Linked DNA regions of Homo sapiens: region 2 is linked to region 1. Evidence: promoter capture Hi-C in human tissues and cell types (Jung and others, 2019). All regions are on one chromosome and are shown on one strand. The core of a region is centred on a gene start or on the middle of the fragment in contact, and the rest is flanking DNA. Distances in the headings are between cores, read along the strand shown. Region 1 holds the start of RNASEK-C17orf49 (RNASEK-C17orf49 readthrough). Region 2 overlaps ZNF232 (zinc finger protein 232).

The links. Contacts are between HindIII fragments. The study calls those that stand out against the background at their distance.
Region 2: a fragment that was not itself captured here is called in contact with the fragment with the promoter of RNASEK-C17orf49 in region 1 in 1 of the 25 tissues and cell types used here (aorta).

The regions. Positions count from the first base shown.
Region 1 is chr17:7,011,035-7,013,734 of GRCh38, forward strand. It overlaps RNASEK-C17orf49 (RNASEK-C17orf49 readthrough), which reads left to right and starts at 1,383. Exons shown (of 8, transcript NR_037717.1): 1 at 1,383-1,723; 2 at 2,632-2,700. It overlaps RNASEK (ribonuclease K), which reads left to right and starts at 1,590. Exons shown (of 3, transcript NM_001004333.5): 1 at 1,590-1,727; 2 at 2,632-2,700. The coding sequence starts at 1,650. It overlaps ALOX12-AS1 (ALOX12 antisense RNA 1), which reads right to left and starts at 1,300. Exons shown (of 3, transcript NR_040089.1): 1 at 1,162-1,300. RefSeq lists enhancers at 951-1,571, 1,651-1,770, 1,851-2,030. The HindIII fragment of the contact is 15,519 bases long and covers 1-2,700 here.
Region 2 is chr17:5,108,801-5,111,500 of GRCh38, forward strand. ZNF232 (zinc finger protein 232) reads right to left here. Exons shown (of 4, transcript NM_014519.6): 2 at 594-1,068; 3 at 126-252. Among named protein-coding and RNA genes, the nearest start is that of ZNF232, 1.7 kb to the right of the region's middle. The HindIII fragment of the contact is 5,086 bases long and covers 1-2,700 here.

The DNA of each region.
Region 1 (2,700 bases), core at 133-2,632:
AAATTCCTTCCACCCATATTTCTCCTATTCACCCATGTACCCCAAAAGTCCCTGAATAAGAATCATGTTTTTGGGGCAGAATACAAACCACTGCCCCAAAATGGCTTCTTTCTCCAAACAGTCCCAGATGAAAGGCACATAATTCATGTCTTAAGGCTACTTTTCCAGCCCCTTTAATACTCTGGGATCTATGTGTTTCCCACATTCCAAGTTATCTTTCACAAGCCTTTTAAGAACAACATGCACAAAATAAATGGACAAGAACTACAAAGTTATTCTAGCCAATGATAGTGTTTATTTGTTAGGTCCTGGGGTCTCAAGGTCAAATGATCCCTCTCAATTATTCTGAGGTCACTGTCCTCACTAGAGTGGGTACAACTTGCTCACTGCAAAACTGTGTTCTTCAAACATCCCTACTTCTTTTCTTTTCTTTTTTTTTTTTTTTTTAGAAGTAGTCTCTATCGCCCAGGCGGGAATGCAGTGGCGCCATCTCAGCTCACTGCAACCTTCGCCTCCCGGGTTCAAGGGATTATCCCGCCTCACCATCCCGAGTGGCTGGGATCACAAGCTCATGCCACCACATCCAGCTAATTTTTGTAATTTTTAGTAGAGACAGGGTTTCGCCATGTTGACCTGGCTGGTCTCGAACTCCCGACCTCAGGTGATCCGCCCGCCTCGACATTCCTATTTCTAAATAATTATTACAGATCTGTCACTCACCAGTTAAACATACAAACGGCTTTTTTGGAGGGGATGACCTATTTATATTTTTAAATCTTATATCCTACCTTATTCAAAAGTCCTATCAGTTTTCCTAGTTTAGAGAAGCAAAGTGACATTTTTGTGTACATTTAACAGGACTGCTTACCTTCACAACCTGCTCAGTCGGCTTTCCCTGGACTTCTCCTAACCGCCCATTTTTCCTGGATTTGGCACCGAGAGTTACAGTATTTCACGTGCGATGATAAAATGTTACTTAGGAGAAACAGTTCCAATACCAAGAAACTTCAGCAATTTTAAAGCATTTTAAAGCCACAAAACCATGCCCGATCCCCAAAAGGGGGTCCTAACTCCTTTACACTGTCAGAATCTCAATTTTAAAAGGGAGGAGTAGAGAAGAGATAGAAACGCTCTCTGTTGGTGAAAATCTGTCTTACTTACCATTTCCCCAACACAGGAGAGACTAAGGAATTTCAGGTAAAAATCAGATGGCTCCAATCCTCCGATACTAAGAGCCCATCGCCCCAGTTCCCAGGAGTTCCGCCAGTTAGACTTTTTCCCCCATGGCCTCGCTAAGGCTAGTTCCTCGTCACGTGACGTGACAGGCTTGGTCACGTGACATACCAGCTCCTTCCATTCCCGTGTGCGGGGGGAGGGGGACCAACAAACCGGAGGCCCTCGCTCTTCCAATACTCACGCCCTAGCTACAGAGGTCAAGGAAGGTTTCCCCAGGAGCAGTTTTGGTTTCAGACGGCGCCGTCTCCCGCGAAAGTCCTGAGAGGAGCCCAGCCTTTTCCGCCTGCCGCCCCCGGATGGGATGGTTGAGGCCGGGGCCACGCCCCCTCTGCCCCCCTGCGAGGGCATCCTGGGCTTTCTCCCACCGCTTTCCGAGCCCGCTTGCACCTCGGCGATCCCCGACTCCCTTCTTTATGGCGTCGCTCCTGTGCTGTGGGCCGAAGCTGGCCGCCTGCGGCATCGTCCTCAGCGCCTGGGGAGTGATCATGTTGGTGAGGGGACTCCCCGGCAAGGATCGGAGAGGGCCTGAGGGGCTCCGGGCTGGGAGGGCTGGGAGGCGAGGAAACTCTGGGCCGCAGGCAGGCCGGAGGGGCCGGGGATCTACAGGCCCCGGAGAAGGAGACAGACTGAAATTGAAAAATGGGAACTGTTCGAGACCAGCCTGACCAACATGGTGAAACCCCGTCTCCAATAAAAATACAAAAATTAGCCGGGCGTGGTGGCGCCCGCCTGTAATCCCAGCTACTCAGGAGGCTGAGGCAGGAGAATCGCTTGAATCCGGGAGGCGGAGGGTGCAGTGAGCCGAGATCGCGCCACTGCACTCCAGCCTGGGTGACAGAGCGAGACTCCGTCCCCAAAGAAAAAGAAAAAAGGGAACTGGAGCGGAGGGCCCTGGAGTGGGAGGAGCCAGGGCTGGTAAAGGTGGAGACCCCTCAAGGTAGGAGAAACAAGAGCGGGGTGCCTGAGAGGTGCTTGAGTTGAATGGAGGACATGGGAGGAAAAGAGAGTGCTTGTTCCAGAAATGTGTAGCTGGGCCTTGTTTTCCCAGTAATCCACCCACCGCCACTTCAAGAAGAAATGATATGAAGAAGTGCCGGTTCTCCCTCCCCTCTTCCGCACTGTCCCGTGATGATGACGCCTCCAGAGAGGACGATAATCTGGGTTCCTGGGAGAGATGGCTTGGTCACTATTCCCACCCTTGCCTCGACCACTTGTCTCAATGTCACCACCTCACGCCCTGTTCCAGGTGGCTGAGTCCGAATCCAGTAACCACCACCTCGTTTTGGTTAATCTCAGGCTCGGGTGTTGTAGCAACATTGGAAATGGGAGGGGTTTACGAAGTGAACATGAGGTCAGGTGCCTGAATTCAACAGTCTACCCATTCCCCTTTTCCAGATAATGCTCGGAATATTTTTCAATGTCCATTCCGCTGTGTTGATTGAGGACGTTCCCTTCACGGAGAAA
Region 2 (2,700 bases), core at 18-2,517, 1.9 Mb before region 1:
AGTAAGGCTGTGATGATACCAAACATTTAAGCACCTACTACTATTTACCCTTTACAGGTACTAGGTACTGTGCCCTTTATAGTCCCTCTTTCTCCTCTCCCTCCCCACAGAATCCTGCTCCTCACCACTCTTTGGGAAAGGCTGGGTCTCCTTAGGCTGGAGCTGGATGCTCAGTGCTTCCTGGGCTGCTCCCAGAGATTCCTTCTTCTCCCATGGCTCTTCCTGTGCAGGTCCATGTGCAGGGCCTGGGACCTGGAGGTGATCAGGCACCACTCAGTTTAAATTTTCTTCAAATTACTAGTGTGGTTTCTGTCCCCTGCCTGGACACTTGCAGATGTGACCCTCCTTGGACCAAAGCTTCCAAGGAGACTTTAGAGAGCCTCCTCAGAGTCAGCACAAGGGAAGAAGAGGAGCTAGAGTCTCTTTCTCATTCAGGGCTCGAGGGCAGAAAAGACAGACACAGAAACACATACTAACTGCTCTACCTGGCCCAAGAGAGGTTTGAACTTGGCACCTCCCCCTACAGCTGCCCCTCGGTCCAGCCTGAAGGTCATCAATCTGGCTCCCATAACAGACCAAATCCCCCTTCCCACCTGCGGCTCTGGTTCAAGTCCTTTCTCTAAATCCTCCAGCACAGTCACAGCCTCCTCTCCACTCTTAGGGTGATGTCCCCGCACCCAGGATTGGAGCTCCTCAGGCAGGATGGTCAAGAATTGTTCCAGCACCAGGAACTCCAGGATCTGCTCCTTCGTGTGTTTCTCTGGCCTCAGCCACTCACAGCAGAGTACTCGTAGTTGGCTCAAGGCCTCCCGGGGACCAGGAGTCTCCTGGTAGCGGAGATGCCTGAAGCGTTGGCGGAAGATCTCTTGACTGGTAGAGTGGTTCCCAGGTAGCCTGGTCTCATACTCACAAGACTGTTCCTCTTCCTTTGGTCCCATCATCATCATCTTCTCTTGTCCCTGTGTACCCTGAAGGGCCAGAGTTTCAGCTGCTGTTAGTGATACAGCCATCCTAGTCTGCACTAGCTCTGCAGAAGGCTCATACCAGCTGGAATCTTGCAAGGGCCCCCTGTAACATAAGAAGAAATCATTCCTCTTTTTTTTTTTTAAGACAGAGTCTTTCTCTGTTACCCAGGCTGGAGTGCAGTGACATGATCTCAGCTCACTGCAACCTCCACCCCCGGGGTTCTAGCGATTCTCCTACCTCAGCCTCCCAAGTAGCTGGGATTACAGGCGCCTGCCACCACATCCAGCTAATTTTTTTGTATTTTTAGTAGGGACGGGGTTTTGCCATATTGGCCAGGCTGGTCTTGAACTCCTGACCTCAGGTGACCCACCCACCTCGGCCTCCCAAAGTGGTAGGATTACAGGCATGAGCCACCGCGCCCGTCCTCCTCTTCTTTTTTCATTCATTAAACATATACATATACTCAACACTCCAAAGAGCCAAACCCTGTCCTATGCCCTGTAGTCCCGCTTTTTCTTCCACCCCTCCCCAGAATTCTGCTGCACTAAGTCAATGTTTTTGAGAAACTTGCACCGTGGTAGAAACGGGGATGTAAAGTGGTTTTCTATAATACAACTAATTAAATGCCATTGACAGGAAAAATGTATCAAGAAAAAAAAAGTTCTGGGGGCCTATGGGAAGAAATGACTATTGGAAGAAATAAGTTTGAAGCAAAACCCAAGTTTCCAGATGCAGAGCCCAGAGCCGAGCAGCTTTCAGTGCAAGGTGGAATGTGTTGGGGAGGCAGCCTCCTCTGAGATGGCTCCTCCCTGCTTTCAAAAATTTCTGAAGTAGTAGCTACAGCAAAAGAAAAATATAAGTCCCCTTTAAGGAGCTGGATCTCATTCAAATGCCAAAGCCCTATTAAGGGGCAGCTATGAACAAGTCTCGGGTACAGTGGCCTGCGTCAAGGAAATCTAACAGGTGTAAACCAAAAAAGCATCTGAGATAGGTCTCAACCAATTTAGGGGTTATTTTGCTAAGGTTGAGGATGCACCCAGGAAAAAGACACACAAGCCACAGTAGGATCCGTGGCTCGCACTTTTACCAAAGAGGGTTTTGAGGGCTTCAATTTAATGGGGAGAAAGCTGGCAGGAGGGGAAGGAGGAGAGAAGAGGGAGGGTATGTGGTGAGGTAAGTGGCCACATTCTTGTGAGGATTTGATTAGAGCTCACTGAATCCACATGTTGCACGTGAAAAGAGGAAGTCAATTATGAATTTGTCTCGTGCTCAGTAAATCTGCATTTTACACAAGATAAGGTAGACATACAGTAGAGGAAGAAGTCAAATATGCTTTGTCTCTGGGTGGGTGGAGGAACGATTTCTAGTCTTGTCCGGTGAAGCTCGGCTGTTCGTTTCCATTGCCAGGGTGAGGGAGGCCACCTGGGGGCATATGTTGCTTTCTATCTTGCAGCTATCGGTTTAGGAACAAAAGGAAAAGCAGTTTTTTTCCGTGACTCAGTTTCCAAGCTTAACTTTTCCCTTTGTCATAGTAAGTTTGGGGTCCTGAGATTTTATTTTCCTTTCACACAGGGAAGGAGGTGGAACGCATCAGAGGCCACGAAAGGAGCACAAAGGGGGACCGCTGGCCTAAGACAAAGGAGGCGCGAGGAAAAACGCGGAGCTCGCGTCTCCCAGGGTGATGCCCGGCGCCGCTGGCCCCAGCAAAACTTCTCTACCCCGGCCTCGGGCAGG